2 separate regions of the Homo sapiens genome follow, and region 1 is linked to region 2. Evidence: promoter capture Hi-C in 16 types of primary human blood cells and fetal thymus (Javierre and others, 2016). All regions are on one chromosome and are shown on one strand. Each heading gives the region's core, a stretch centred on a gene start or on the middle of the fragment in contact. The rest is flanking DNA. Distances are from core to core; before and after follow the strand shown. Region 1 holds the start of GNB3 (G protein subunit beta 3). Region 2 holds the start of PTMS (parathymosin).

Evidence for each region. Contacts are between HindIII fragments. The CHiCAGO score rates a contact against its expected background, and 5 or more counts as called.
Region 1: a contact is called between the fragment with the promoter of GNB3 here and the fragment with the promoter of PTMS in region 2, in 7 of 17 cell types (naive CD4 T cells, activated CD4 T cells, total CD4 T cells and 4 more). The highest score is 10.5, in naive CD4 T cells.

Annotation. Positions count from the first base shown.
Region 1 is chr12:6,836,130-6,842,623 of GRCh38, forward strand. It overlaps GNB3 (G protein subunit beta 3), which reads left to right and starts at 4,796. Exons shown (of 10, transcript NM_002075.4): 1 at 4,796-4,904; 2 at 5,129-5,215; 3 at 5,457-5,495. The coding sequence starts at 5,159. It overlaps P3H3 (prolyl 3-hydroxylase 3), which reads left to right. Exons shown (of 15, transcript NM_014262.5): 10 at 856-957; 11 at 1,294-1,444; 12 at 1,603-1,720; 13 at 1,829-1,904; 14 at 2,871-3,011; 15 at 3,168-3,718. The coding sequence ends at 3,332. The HindIII fragment of the contact is 12,557 bases long and covers 1-6,494 here.
Region 2 is chr12:6,765,113-6,771,548 of GRCh38, forward strand. It overlaps PTMS (parathymosin), which reads left to right and starts at 1,251. Exons shown (of 5, transcript NM_002824.6): 1 at 1,251-1,638; 2 at 4,491-4,562; 3 at 4,809-4,887; 4 at 5,045-5,106; 5 at 5,280-5,840. The coding sequence starts at 1,594. The coding sequence ends at 5,330. RefSeq lists silencers at 1,116-1,445, 1,556-2,055. The HindIII fragment of the contact is 8,838 bases long and covers 803-6,436 here.

The sequences.
Region 1 (6,494 bases), core at 3,546-6,045, 75 kb after region 2:
GAGGACCTCTGGAGCCTGGGAGGTGGAGATTGCAGTGAGCTATGATGGCGCCACTGCACTCCAGCCTGGGCGATAGAGCAAGACCCCGTCTCAAAAACAAAAAATGAAAAAAAAAAAAAACCCCAGGTTAGACGGCTTGGGTGACTAGGTGTCTCTCAGAAGTGAGATTTGTATGCAGGCGTAACTAGATAGTGGTGCTTAAACAAATTCAAAAAGTAGACAAAAAACGGGTGTCAGAAAAGCGAATAATTCCAGTGTAGACATCCAGATATTAGGAGACCCCCAGGTAGTGAGAGTGGTCGCGGAGGTGGCTGGGTAGTTGTGACTCAGTATCAAGGAGTGGGGGAGCCACGGAGTCCACAGTTTCTCCGAGAGCATGTCAGGTGGGAAGAGGTCAGAGAGGGATAGCCCGCTGATGCTGTCTCCCTACCGCCAGTCTGGCCTAACTGTGGAACTTCCTCTTAGGGTCCTGTTTCCAGAGGGACTCCTCTATTCTTGGCTCATCGGGGATTAATGATCAAGCCCTTCCTGCCTAGTTCCCAGCTCTGCCCCACTTTTCCAGCTGTCCCTACCCTCTCAGAGGCCCCCTTACTGCTGTAGGAAGCTCTCCCGAGTTCTCTCCACAGTCCCCTTAGTAAGCGGGATTCCAGCCCGTACCAGAGAGGGACAATCGGACAGCCGTGGCGGTGGGCACTCTCTGGGAAAGAGCAGCAGCTCAGGAAGACGAGCCACAACAGAACTGTGGGAGCATCTAGCTTCTTCTGGAGAGCGGGAGGGCCGGAGGGAGGGTCTTGCAGCCCTGCAGACAGTGAGGGGCTGGGGGAGTGACTCCACGGTAAACTCCTTCCTATTTAGGATGCAGCTGGGGCTGGAGCCAGGTCTGGCTATCGTGGTCGCCGCTCCCCTCACACCCCCCATGAACGCTTCGAGGGGCTCACGGTGCTTAAGGCTGCGCAGGTGAGCACAGGAGGCACCCGGGCCCGTCTGATGCCCAGACCTGGAGGAGAGGCTGTGCAGGAAGCCGGGCCCCAGGGCCTGGGCTTTTGTGAAGGAGCTTTCTTGGGACCGAGACTACCTGATAGGACCCAGCGTGGAGAAAAGGGATGTTCTGAGAGCTGGGGCCGGGGTTGTTGTCATGGAGAGAGAAGGAGCAGTTTGGGCTGATGGACAGAGCTGGATGCTGACAGACTCCAAACCCATGGGTGGAGAGCGGCAGAGTTGGGCAGGGGCTAGGGCCGAGACCACCCTCCCCTTGCCTTCCTCCTTTTCTGCCCTGCCTTTCACTGCCTGCAGCTGGCCCGGGCTGGGACAGTGGGCAGTCAGGGTGCTAAGCTGCTTCTGGAGGTGAGCGAGCGGGTGCGGACCTTGACCCAGGCCTACTTCTCCCCGGAACGGCCCCTGCATCTGTCCTTCACCCACCTGGTGTGCCGCAGCGCCATAGAAGGTACGACAGGGACCCCCCACTGCTCTTCTCCAACCTCAGGCCCTGCCCCCAGGACACTGCCCCCAAGAGCCCCGGGGTGGACGTGCACGGCCTGAGCCCACAGGGTGGCAGATGGGCACAGGGGCACAGAGGTACCCCCAGACCCCTTTGTGTCCTAGGAGAGCAAGAGCAGCGCATGGACCTGAGTCACCCAGTGCACGCAGACAACTGCGTCCTGGACCCTGACACGGGAGAGTGCTGGCGGGAGCCCCCAGCCTACACCTATCGGGACTACAGGTGGGCAGCCCCTCTAGTGGTCAGGCAGGTGGGCAGACAAAGGTCATCCCACTGCCGGCCTGGGCCTGGGTTGGGGTCTCACTGCCTCTTGCTTTTTTCCCTCCCCAGCGGACTCCTCTACCTCAACGATGACTTCCAGGGTGGGGACCTGTTCTTCACGGAGCCCAACGCCCTCACTGTCACGGTGCGTGGAGTGGGGGGTGTGACGGTGTGACAAAGGGCCCAGCTGTGGGGTCAGGATTCAAAACAGAAGGCTCCAGAGGCAAATGCAGGGAAATGGCCAGGGCTTTTAACCCTTTCACTTCCCCGCCTCCGCAGCCCTCCCGCTGCTTCCTCCGTAGCAAGGTCTCTAAGTGGCCGAATCAACCCTACCATCAGTATTTGTCTCGCCTCCTAAAGAAGGGTGAATGAAGCACAGCTTGCAGGTGCCTCCAGGACTCCATGGCCCTATTCTAGGGATTTGGGGAACTTGAAATAGTCCTTCCTCTTTGCAGCGAGGTGAGCACAGTGGCTGGCGCACAGATACCAGGGCCGCCTTGACTGGGGCTCGGATTCTGAACCTTTCTGAGGTTTAGTTTCCTAGACTGGGGTGATAATAATAGTACGTATTTTAAAGGGTCATTGTAGGAAGTAATTTAGGTAATGTACCTAAAAGAATGAGGCAGCGCCTGGTAATGATAAGCAATTAATGAATGTTAGGTGGGAAATTTCCGGACACCAGGGGCTAGGATTGGGTAGGAGGAGAGGGGCAGTGATTGTTCATCTGGGTGTGGGGTGTGAAAATGGTTCCAATATCTGTATCCCCTTCTGCATAGAGTCTGGTACTGCATGCACAGCCCCAGATTGCTTCAAGCCCTGGATTCAAAGGGCTGAGTGGGAAAAATCAGGGTACCAGGGGTCAGGAACCAACAGGAGACCATCCGTGGAGACCCCTTTTTCCTTTGGTTCCCAACTCCTCTTGCATTTTTGCTCTGCAAGTTGAAGCTGATTTCTCATTTGCCCCAAGCTAGTCCCTGAATTAAGGAGTAGGAAGTGGTAGCGAGAGAGCTGATCCTCTCTGTGCCCCTGTCCCCATCCTGCTCTAGGGAGTGAGGGCCAAGTTCTCTGAGAGAGCCAATCCCTGGAGCTGAACCTGCCCTCATCCCTCCAGGCTCGGGTGCGTCCTCGCTGTGGGCGCCTTGTGGCCTTCAGCTCCGGTGTCGAGAATCCCCATGGGGTGTGGGCCGTGACTCGGGGACGGCGCTGTGCCCTGGCACTGTGGCACACGTGGGCACCTGAGCACAGGGAGCAGGTAAGGAGCGGGGTAGGAAGGGATGTGGTTCTCCTGGTGCGTGAAGGGTGGGCAAGGAGCCCCCGAGAAGGCTCACAGTCGGTGAGGGTCAGGGGCTGAGCTGACCCAGGGAAGGTGGGTGCAGGGAATGGGCCACACTCTCCTCCCCAACCCCAGGAGTGGATAGAAGCCAAAGAACTGCTGCAGGAGTCACAGGAGGAGGAGGAAGAGGAAGAGGAAGAAATGCCCAGCAAAGACCCTTCCCCAGAGCCCCCTAGCCGCAGGCACCAGAGGGTCCAAGACAAGACTGGAAGGGCACCTCGGGTTCGGGAGGAGCTGTGAGTGGCTGAGCCAGCTCCTTGAGGATGTGGCCACTTGACTTGTGGAAGGCCATCTTGATGCCAGGACACACAGGAAGCCCCTGTGTGACATCAGGAGCAGAACAGCAAGCTCTCTGTCCCTGCACCCCCACCATCTTGGGGACCTACAAGGGCCTGGACTCAGAGGACAGTGCACAGGCTAGCCTGGAGCTCACCAGGCCTGGGGAGCTGGGACGGGGCCCCGCTGCCGGACCTGCAGCCCTGGACAGATGGGGAACACTGTGCCTCCCTGAACAGAAATGGCAGGGGAGGAGGCTGATGCTTTAAATGAAGAGGATGGTGGGGTTGGGAGGTATAACCCTGCTCCTCTCTCCCAGTCTGTGCAATAAAGGTCGTGAAGATCTCTCAGCCAGGGGCCAGTCAAGTGTATCACAGATTCTGTGATGGCTGGAGGTGGGGGTGGCTCTGGCTGGCCTGGGAGGAGACAGGTGTCTTTGGGCCTCCCAGAGGCGGGGCGCCTGGAGCCTGTGATTTGTCAGGGAAATCTCAGCCACCTGCTCCCCTCATGCAAATGACCCAAGCCCCTGGCAGCTGCTCCTTAGGCCTCCAAGTGTAAGCCCTGTCTTCCCTCTCTGAGCTTTGCTGAGACTTAGGGCCGCCTGCTTTCTCTCTGACCCCTGCTTTCACAGCCTCGAGAGGGCAAGGAGGGGGCCAGACCCCAGCCTGGGAGCAGCGTGCGGGCCTTCCCTCCACTTGAAATCCGTTGCCCGCCCACAATAGGGGCAGACCTGTCCATCCTTCTCTGTGGGTCCCCTGTACCTTTCTCCCCCAACAGGATCAGACCCAGAGGCAGCTGGTTGGGGTTTGTCGAGAAGAAGGATTATCCAGATCAGTCCTTTCTAATCTCAGCTCCTGCCTGTACCCTCCCATACTCACCAAACCCTCTTCCCCACCACCCTGAGCTGAGGAGCACAGTTTGAGGTACTGACAATGGGGCCATCTATCACCCTTATATCCCACCTCCTGGCCTGGTTGCTAAGTGGCCCTGACTGCCAAGATCATCACCATGGATGGGGGCCGGGACCAGGGGGGCCACTGGAGCTGTAGTTGTCTGCTCCTTTGCACCCCTCCCAAACCCCAACCCTTAATCCTCACAGCTTTGCTCTAATCCTGTGGGGCCTGATGCTCTTATCTCTGCCTGCAGAGACTGACCAGGGAAGCACCCCTTCACCCCCTCCTCTCTCAGGGCTTGTGGTGGGGGCTGCCCCTCTCTATGGCCCCACACTCCTGCCCCCAACCCTCCTCCCGGCTGGGCCCAAGTCTCTCTGGAATCCGTACACCTCCCTCCCTCCCCCCACCCCTTCCCCCCACCCCTGCCAGCTGATTTCATTTGCCTGACGTTGTGGTTGGCTCTACCCTTCCCTGTCAGGCCCCCCCAACCCCCCGCCGGTCGGGGCCAGGCCAGGCCAGGCCAGCTCCTCTGGCAGCAGAGCCTGGGCAGGTGACGGGCGGGCGCGGGCGTCGCAGCTGAGGGAGTAAGGAGGCTCCCAGGAACCGGAGCTGGAAACCCGGCCGAGGTCCAGCCAGAGCCCAAGTAAGAGGGAGCTGGCCTGGGCTCTGCTCTCCTGGGCTGGGGCGCAGGCAGGGCTCAGGCAGGCTGGGGCTGGACGCAAAGGACCTCAAACTTGGAGGGCCTAGCTGGGGAGAGGGTGCAGCCACCCAGTCGTTTCCCTGTGTCTTGGAGTCTGGTGTGGGCACGAAGGGCAGAAGCACAGCCTGGTGGGGGGTTCCTCAACACCGACCCCATGTTCCTGGCAGGAGCCAGAGTGACCCCTCGACCTGTCAGCCATGGGGGAGATGGAGCAACTGCGTCAGGAAGCGGAGCAGCTCAAGAAGCAGATTGCAGTAACTCCAGAGCCCTACCCCTGGGGCCCCAGAAAACAGCTGGGGACATGAGGAGCGTGGCCCAGGGGGAGGGGGCTGGGTTTGCTCTTGAGTGACTAGAAGTGACCAGGGACTTTCTAAACTTGGTTCGCATATTTGAGACCCCCAAGCCCCAGAGCCCCAAGACCAACCTGCCCTGAAGGCCCATGCACCTGCCACCCCCACCTCGCCCTTGCTCCCCTGATGTCTGCTTTCCCTGCAGGATGCCAGGAAAGCCTGTGCTGACGTTACTCTGGCAGAGGTAAGACCCCCTGTCCCCCGGAAGGCAGGGCATGGGGGGAGGGGAAGGGAGCTCCCCGACCCGCAATAGCGCGTTGCTCCGAGCATTAGTACAGCACGTCCTTGGAGTGAGGAAACCCATTAATTAATTCATTCGACCAACATTTTAGCGGGACCTGCTCTGAGCCAGGCACCATATTGGATGCGAAAGATGCGGACACGGTTCCTATTCTCATCCGTAGAACAAGAGTGACCACAGCCCCCTCCCAGGGCCTTGAAGATGAAGAAGCGATAGTACTTTGTAAATTATAAAGCCCTTGTAGACTCTAGCTGCTAGTTTTCTATGCTGTATTTTGTCAATTCTAAGATGCACATTTCTTCACATTTTGACATCTCTGAAATCAAGGTGCATTCAGCAATGGATCATTGTTTCAATTAGAATTGACAGCATCTTTTCTTTCTTAGTGATGCATCTTAGATTGGATTAAATATGTTAATAGTGAACACTTTTTATGAGCCAGATACTGGGCTAAGCTGCATAAATACCTGATTTCATTGAATTTTCATGATATCTCTGTAAGGTAGGTGCTATGATAAGCCTCATTTTACACCTTGAGTAAACAGACTCAGGGAGGTGAAGCAACTTGCCCAAGATAACAAAGCAGGCCGGGCGCAGTGGTTCACGCCTGTAATCCCAGCCCTTTGGGAGACTGACGTGAAAGGATCACTTGAGCTCAGGAGTTTGAGACCAGCCTGGGCAACATAGTGAGATCTCTTCTTAATATAAAAAAAATTGCTTTTAACTTTTTAAAAAAAGATAGCAATGCAAGTGATGGCAAATCAAGTCTGTTCACTCTGGACCCCCAGCCTAAGTCTAAAATGTGGTTAGAGCTCAAGGGGCATAGTACCACAGATTTCAGGAGGTACAGTTCAGGGTCATGGTGATGCCCCAGGCACCCAGTTAAAAAGCTAGCCGTGCTGCAGCGGTGGGTGCAAGCAGGCTCCTCTCGGCTTGGGAGAG
Region 2 (6,436 bases), core at 1-2,500:
AGCCTTCCACTCTGTCCACCTTCCTGACCTTTAATACACAACCCAGCCCCTGTTCCCTTCTGAAATCCCAAGCTTTTCAAAATGACTCAAAGATACCGAGATTGAGGGCGAGGAGCTGAGGATGTGTGGAATAGGGTGGGGCTGGAACTCCAGACCTGGACCTGTATTATATTTGCAAAGGAGGCAAATATAACCCAGAAAGGCTAGGGAAGATGGCAGCAGAGGAATGAGAAAAGCTGAAGGATGGAAAATGTAAAAAATGAGGACAGAAAGAGGAGTTGAGGAAAGCCAGCCAAGAATAGAGGGCCAGGTGCCTGACTCAGATAAGACAAGAGCAGGGTTGTCTGGGAAAGATAGGGAAAGAGACCAGAGGTGGAAGGGCAGAAGAGAGTCAGTGAGGAGTGGAGAAGAGGTGAGAGAAGAATGGGAGCGATTCGAGTTATAATTGGTTGTGAAGGAGGGGTCTAGGTACAGATGACTGAGGACGGATGAAGAGAAATAGAAGGACCAGGCGAATAAAAGTGAGGTGAGACGGGCGAATAAGAGAGGTAGAAGATGGAAGAGAGCTGGAAGACAGCAAAGGAGACCAGGGGGCCTGACTCCCCCCGGCTCACAGCACGGGGCCAGGAAGGGAGGCACCCGGCAAGGGTCACAAGTGTCAATCTGGCGGGACAGAAGGCTGGGCCGCCCTTTCTGCCCTCCCATCCCTCCTCAAGGCCATCCAGAGAATGTGGATGGAGGATGAGAGGGGGAAATCCGGCGTGGTGTGGAAGGAGCGCCCGAACCCTCTTCCTCTTCTTTAAGCTTTTGGTTTCTCAAATACCTGCCCTATCTTCCCATCTGCTCCCCTCACCCCACCCCTTGGCAAAATCCCAGGGCTTTTTTTGGGGTCAGTAGGATTCTGGCCACCTCTCCAGTCCGCCCCCAAAAGCCAGACTCCACATTCGCAGGCAGTAGGTTGGGATTTGGAAAGGTGCCTCCCCGCAGGAACCCCACCCCTTCCCACCTCCTCGCCCCACTCTTTCTCCGCGGCCGTCAGTCTCTCCATTTCCCCCTCCTGGTCTCGTCCTCCCTCCCGACTCCCTAGCTCTCCCTCCCCTCGCTTTCATCCTCCTATCCCCACCTCTCCAACCTCCTCTTTCATCCCCCTCCCCTCTCCTCTCCTCCCCGCTCCCGCCTGCCCCACCCCTGGGAAGCCCCTCCCGTCGGGCAGCGCCGCCTTATAAGCGGGTTCCCTTCCCGGGGGCGGCAGCGGCTGGTCGGCGGCAGCTCTGCTGGTGCGGGGGCGGCGAGCCCGGGATCGAGCTACCGCGGCCGAGCGCGCCGGCCACCGCCTGCACCGCCCTTCCGCCCGCCCTCCGGACGGCCGCAGCCCTGCGGGTCTCCGCTCCAGACCCACCCCCGCCCCACCCCGCGCGCCTCTGCCGCCTCTTCCAGAGACCCAGCTTGCCGAGCGGCCGCCGCTGCCGCTGTCGCCGCCGCCGCCGCCACCGCGCCAGGTTCCGGCCGCGGCCACCCTCCGCCGTCCAGGGCCCCTCCGTCTCGGCCCCGGGACCCCGGCTCCCCGCCAGCCCCGGCCCCGGCCCCGGCACCATGTCGGAGAAAAGCGTGGAGGCAGCGGCCGAGTTGAGCGCCAAGGTACGGGCGGGGGCGGCGGCGGCCCGGACCTCGCGCAGCCCTGGGGCCCGGCGCGGTCCTTCGCCCCAGGCCGCCCCCGACGGCCCCGCGCGGCCCTTGCGCCCGGGTCCTGGCGGACCCCACTGCGCCCTCCCACCGCTCCCCGGCCCGGAGCTCCTTTCCCGGCTCCGCGCGGCTAGCGCCAGCGCCCTCTAGCTGCCCTGCGCGCACCACGGCGCCCGGCCTCGCCGCTCCGGTCGCGCCGTCCCCCGCAGCCGTCCCCACCCCTCTTCGGCCCCACCTCGCTGACCGGATCCCGTCCGGCTTCCCGTCCGAACGCCCCGAGTCTCACTTTGCCGCGCCCCCTCCCTGCGCCCCGCTGCCGCGTCTTTGCTTGCAACCTGACCTCACCTTTCCTCGCTAAGCGGTTTGAGATCCTCAAGTGTAAACAGGACTCTCCCTGGAGGCTGCTCCTCCGGGCCCCTCCCCGCGGCCCGACCGTCGCTCGCTTCTCTCCCCGGACGGCGGCCGCCTCTGTTTTCTCGTTCCCTCCCCTCAGCTGGCTTTCAGCTTTCTTTTCTCTTCATCGTCCCCTTCCCGCATACACACTGAAAGAATCTCGAATTCCTAAAAATTAGAAGCGGGGCAGGACTAGCCTTCGAAAAAGCCGAGGCTGGGCATTGCATGGCATTGCGTCGAGCTGTCCTCGCCCTCATCAGCTCCCTTCCCCGGCCCCATCCGTTCGCCCTTGCCTCTCTTCCAGCCTTCCTCTAATTTCCCCAGGGAACCTGCGGAGTGTCGCTTTGGGAAATTAACGCGGCCGGGGTTTGGGGGCTGGGAGCCCTATCTTGTGTGTGTATGTGTATGGCGGGGGGGGGGGGCGCGGTGGTTGCTGAGGGGCCGTCACACAGGTCTCCCGGAGGCCCGCGGAGTGAAACGGGGGGAGCCAATGGGATTAACGGCGGTGGGAGAGGGGCTGTGTGCGATCTGCCAAGGTGCGCCCGTGTGGCCCTCCGGCGGGCTGTGCGGTGGCATGTGACTTCACTGAGTAGGTGTCTTTGTATGTCTGAAATCCAGCGAGTGTGTGGGACTGCCCGTGTCAGTTACATGTGTGCATGTGGAGACGTAGATGTTCTGGAGCCATGTTGTCGCTTTGTGAGTGCTGAGTGGCTCCGCTGTGCTCCCGTGCTGTCTCAAGAGTGTGGACCAGAATGGCCCAACGCTGGGCCATGTGTCTCCCATCGCGTGGGTGCTCCTCTCTAACTGTGTCTGTGCATGGCTGTCGGCCGGTGTCGGTGTGTGTGCCTGTGTTGAGTAAATGAGGCCAGAGGGCTGCTTAGCAGAAGACCTAGGGCCCAGGTCACATATTCTCCTGGAAAAGGGATCATGGAAGGACAGTGACCAGAAGGACAGAACAGGGGAGGAGAGGGCCCGGCCCCTTGAACTTTGGTCTCTGGTATTCTCCCTCCCTGCATCAGCCCAGATGGGAAAGTCAGGCCAGGGCCATACAGACTTTTGGTGCTGGGGCCCCCAGAGAGAAGCTGACCAGCTCTTTGCTCTCCTGGCCCAGGACGTAGGGAAGAGCCCCCTAGGTAGTGGAAATGCCATACTGACCTTGTGGCACAGAAATGAAGACCTCACGGTGGGGTGGAAGGGCACCCTCTCTGGAGTGAGAGTGAAGAGTTCTGAGCTACCCTTAAAGGGAGAAGGGAATTGAGTGCCCCCCAGGGCAGCCGTTCTGCACCAGGCTCCTCTCCTATCCCCTATCCTGTTCCAGAAAGGACCCCCCCGCCCAGGGTGATCTCACACAGGAGACTTCCATTCACATGGAATCAGATACACAGCGTGGCACACCAACACCAGATCAGATCACACAAGGACACCTACCGTGTTACACTGTGCCTGCCAAGGAGTGGGTGGGGAGAGCACTGGAATCTGAATTGGGAGGCTAGTGTAGTGTCCAGAAGGGACTCAGATGTGCCATATCAGCACAGGACGTCAACCTATGCCTGCTAGGATCTTGGGGTGAAGGAGAGGGGCTGGCTGGTGGGAGGGTCTCCTAGACTGGTCCCTCCCTCTTCTCCATTCCTATCCCACCCCAGTCACAGACCTTGTTTGTTGCTCTCTCCTTGTTTCCCACGCCTGCTACTCTTCCCCTCCTTGTTTTCTCTTCTACTTCACCTACATTTCCACCGTAAATGGCTACTTCCACTACACCCATGCATACACCATGGGAGGCAGGGATAGAGGAAACTACTTGAACTGTTTTGGGGCGGGGAGGGCAGAAAGTGGGAGGGGTGCTGGGAATGTGCTAAGGTGTAGTGTTTGGCCAAGTAGGGGCCTGAGGATTAGGGAGACACAGATGGAGAGAAACAAAGACCTTAGAAGCTGAAGGGGAAGCTGGGAGGGATGCCCAGGAGAGAGAGTCCTCAGGAAAAGGCCCCAGAGGTAGACAAAAGGCAGAGCTGGGCGGGCAGTGGCGGGGCAGGCAAGGGAGGCGGAGGGACACAGGAGGGGGCGGGGCACTGAGGCTGCAAGCAGATGGAGAGGATTTGCTTTGCTGAGCTGAACTCTTCAGCCAGTGAGGTTTGGGAGAACTTGATGGGGGTGGGGATCATTACCCTGGTTGCCCGCTCCTGCTTCTTCATCCCTTTCCCACCTCACCTTGGGTCTTGGGGAAGGAGGTGTTTGGTCTCAACCCCTTCATGGCCCTAATGTAAGGACCCTAGGGCCCCTATTCTGTCTCTAAGCTGTGGCCACCTTATTCAGTTCACACACCTCTAAGCTCACTACAGAGGGAGAACTGGGGCTGCAGGGACTTAGGGGCTGCAAGCCATTTGTGGTGAGAAAGGTGACCTCTTTCTCCTTTGCAGGACCTGAAGGAGAAGAAGGAGAAGGTGGAGGAGAAGGCAAGCCGGAAAGAGCGAAAGAAAGAAGTGGTGGAGGTGTGGAGGGGTGGGGGAGAGGACCACATCTGCCCTACCATCTTCCCTCCCAATCATCTCATCCTTCCTCTGCTTTCCTTCCGAGGGTGCTGGGTCCTGCCGTTCCCCTGAGCCCTGTCACCCTTGCTGCCCCACCCTGTGGCCCATCCCAAGCCCTTTTATCACCCAGGCTCCAGTCCCATTGGTGGTGATGGTGGGCAAGGCATGCAGCCAGCCTGAGGCTACTCCCTCTCCTGGTCCCCACAGGAGGAGGAGAACGGGGCTGAGGAGGAAGAAGAAGAAACTGCCGAGGATGGAGAGGAGGAAGATGAAGGGGAAGAAGAAGGTGGGGAGGGGCAGGGGAGGCTGGGCTGGCAAAGTCTGGGCTCAAAGGAGAGCAGAGTCAGGGTGGGTTTGAAGACCTGAAGCAGGGCTGAGGGCGACCACGGGGGCTCTGCCAGAGCTTCCTGCCCTTCCCCAATGACCCATTTCTGGCTCCTCAGATGAGGAAGAAGAAGAAGAGGATGATGAAGGGCCCGCGCTGAAGAGAGCTGCCGAAGAGGAGGTTTGGGCTGGGTTGCTGGGCCTGAGGGGCTGTCAGGGATGCAGCCGGGCTGGGCGCCCTTTGGATTTGGACCCAGATCCCTGTGTGGCAGGGGTGGGGGCTGGAACAGGACCGGGACAGGGGGAGGTCTCCCCTCCCATTTTACAGCTCCCCCATTCTCTCCCTCTCCACAGGATGAAGCGGATCCCAAACGGCAGAAGACAGAAAATGGGGCATCGGCGTGAGCCCCTGCCAACAGGCTGGGGTTGGGAGGCCTCTCTGGGCCTGGAGGTGGGGGTGGGGGCAGCCAAGTCCAGCCACTCTTCACCTGGCTCCCTGCTCTGGGCCCTGCACCAGAGCTGCCACCCTCTTCTTTCTCCCCAGCCTTCTCATTTCCGCCTCTCCAGACACTGCGCCCTCCACCCTCACTCTGCCATTGTTCCACCTCCTGACCTGCTCCATCTGAGCTCTCCAGCTGGCCCCCAATTGCTCCTCTCTCTCTTTGCTCTCTTTCTCCCTCCCCTACCAGCCTCATTCTTCCTCCGGTAGCCTCTCCCACCTAACCTCTGCATCCCCCAGCCTCATGTCCTGCCCCATCCCTATCCTGCCTGATCCCTGGATCTCCCTCAGATCCCCTCTTCTCAGACAGCGCCAGGCCGGGGTGGGGCCGGGGTTGGGGCCGAGCCCCACAGCTGCCCCCCTCCCCTCCCTTTTTGTATAATTTAATAAAGAAATGGTCGCGCTTCTGTTTTTAACCTGTCTCCTGCTTTCCCGGGGGCTCCAGTCAGTGCGACAAAAGGGTAGAGAGGGAGGAGGGTGGCTGACCTCCCATTCTGCCAGGACCCTTCCCTTTGATACAAAAGCAGCAGCACACTCCTACCACCCACGACTCAAGAAGACAAGATCAGCCCTCCAGGGGTGGCCTGGAGCCCAGCTCTTCTGAGAGCTGACTTATGTCCTGTTTTGGATTCTCAGGGATGCTCCTCCCCAGCAATACACACTTCCCTGCTAACCCACACAAGACCTAGACACTGCTGAGCCCAGTGGAAAGCTACCAGCTCTATTGTGCTGAACCAGGCACAGAGAAACAGCCCAGAAACAGGAAGTCCTTCCCCTGAGCTGGGAGAGGGCTGGTAGTCCTGGGTCTCAGCCTGCTAGGATCTGGAGTGAGCTGCCTGGCATCAGAGATGCCCTCTGCCTGGCATGGAAGCGAGCTCCTTCCAGTCAAGCAGGGAAATCCTGGGTCTCGTGTCATCCCCAGGTCGGCTGTATGTTTCGTCACCTGCCCTCCAACTCTCCCTGGGCTGGGCTGGGGAGCGGGAGTTGTATGACTCTTGTCAGTCTTGGGCCT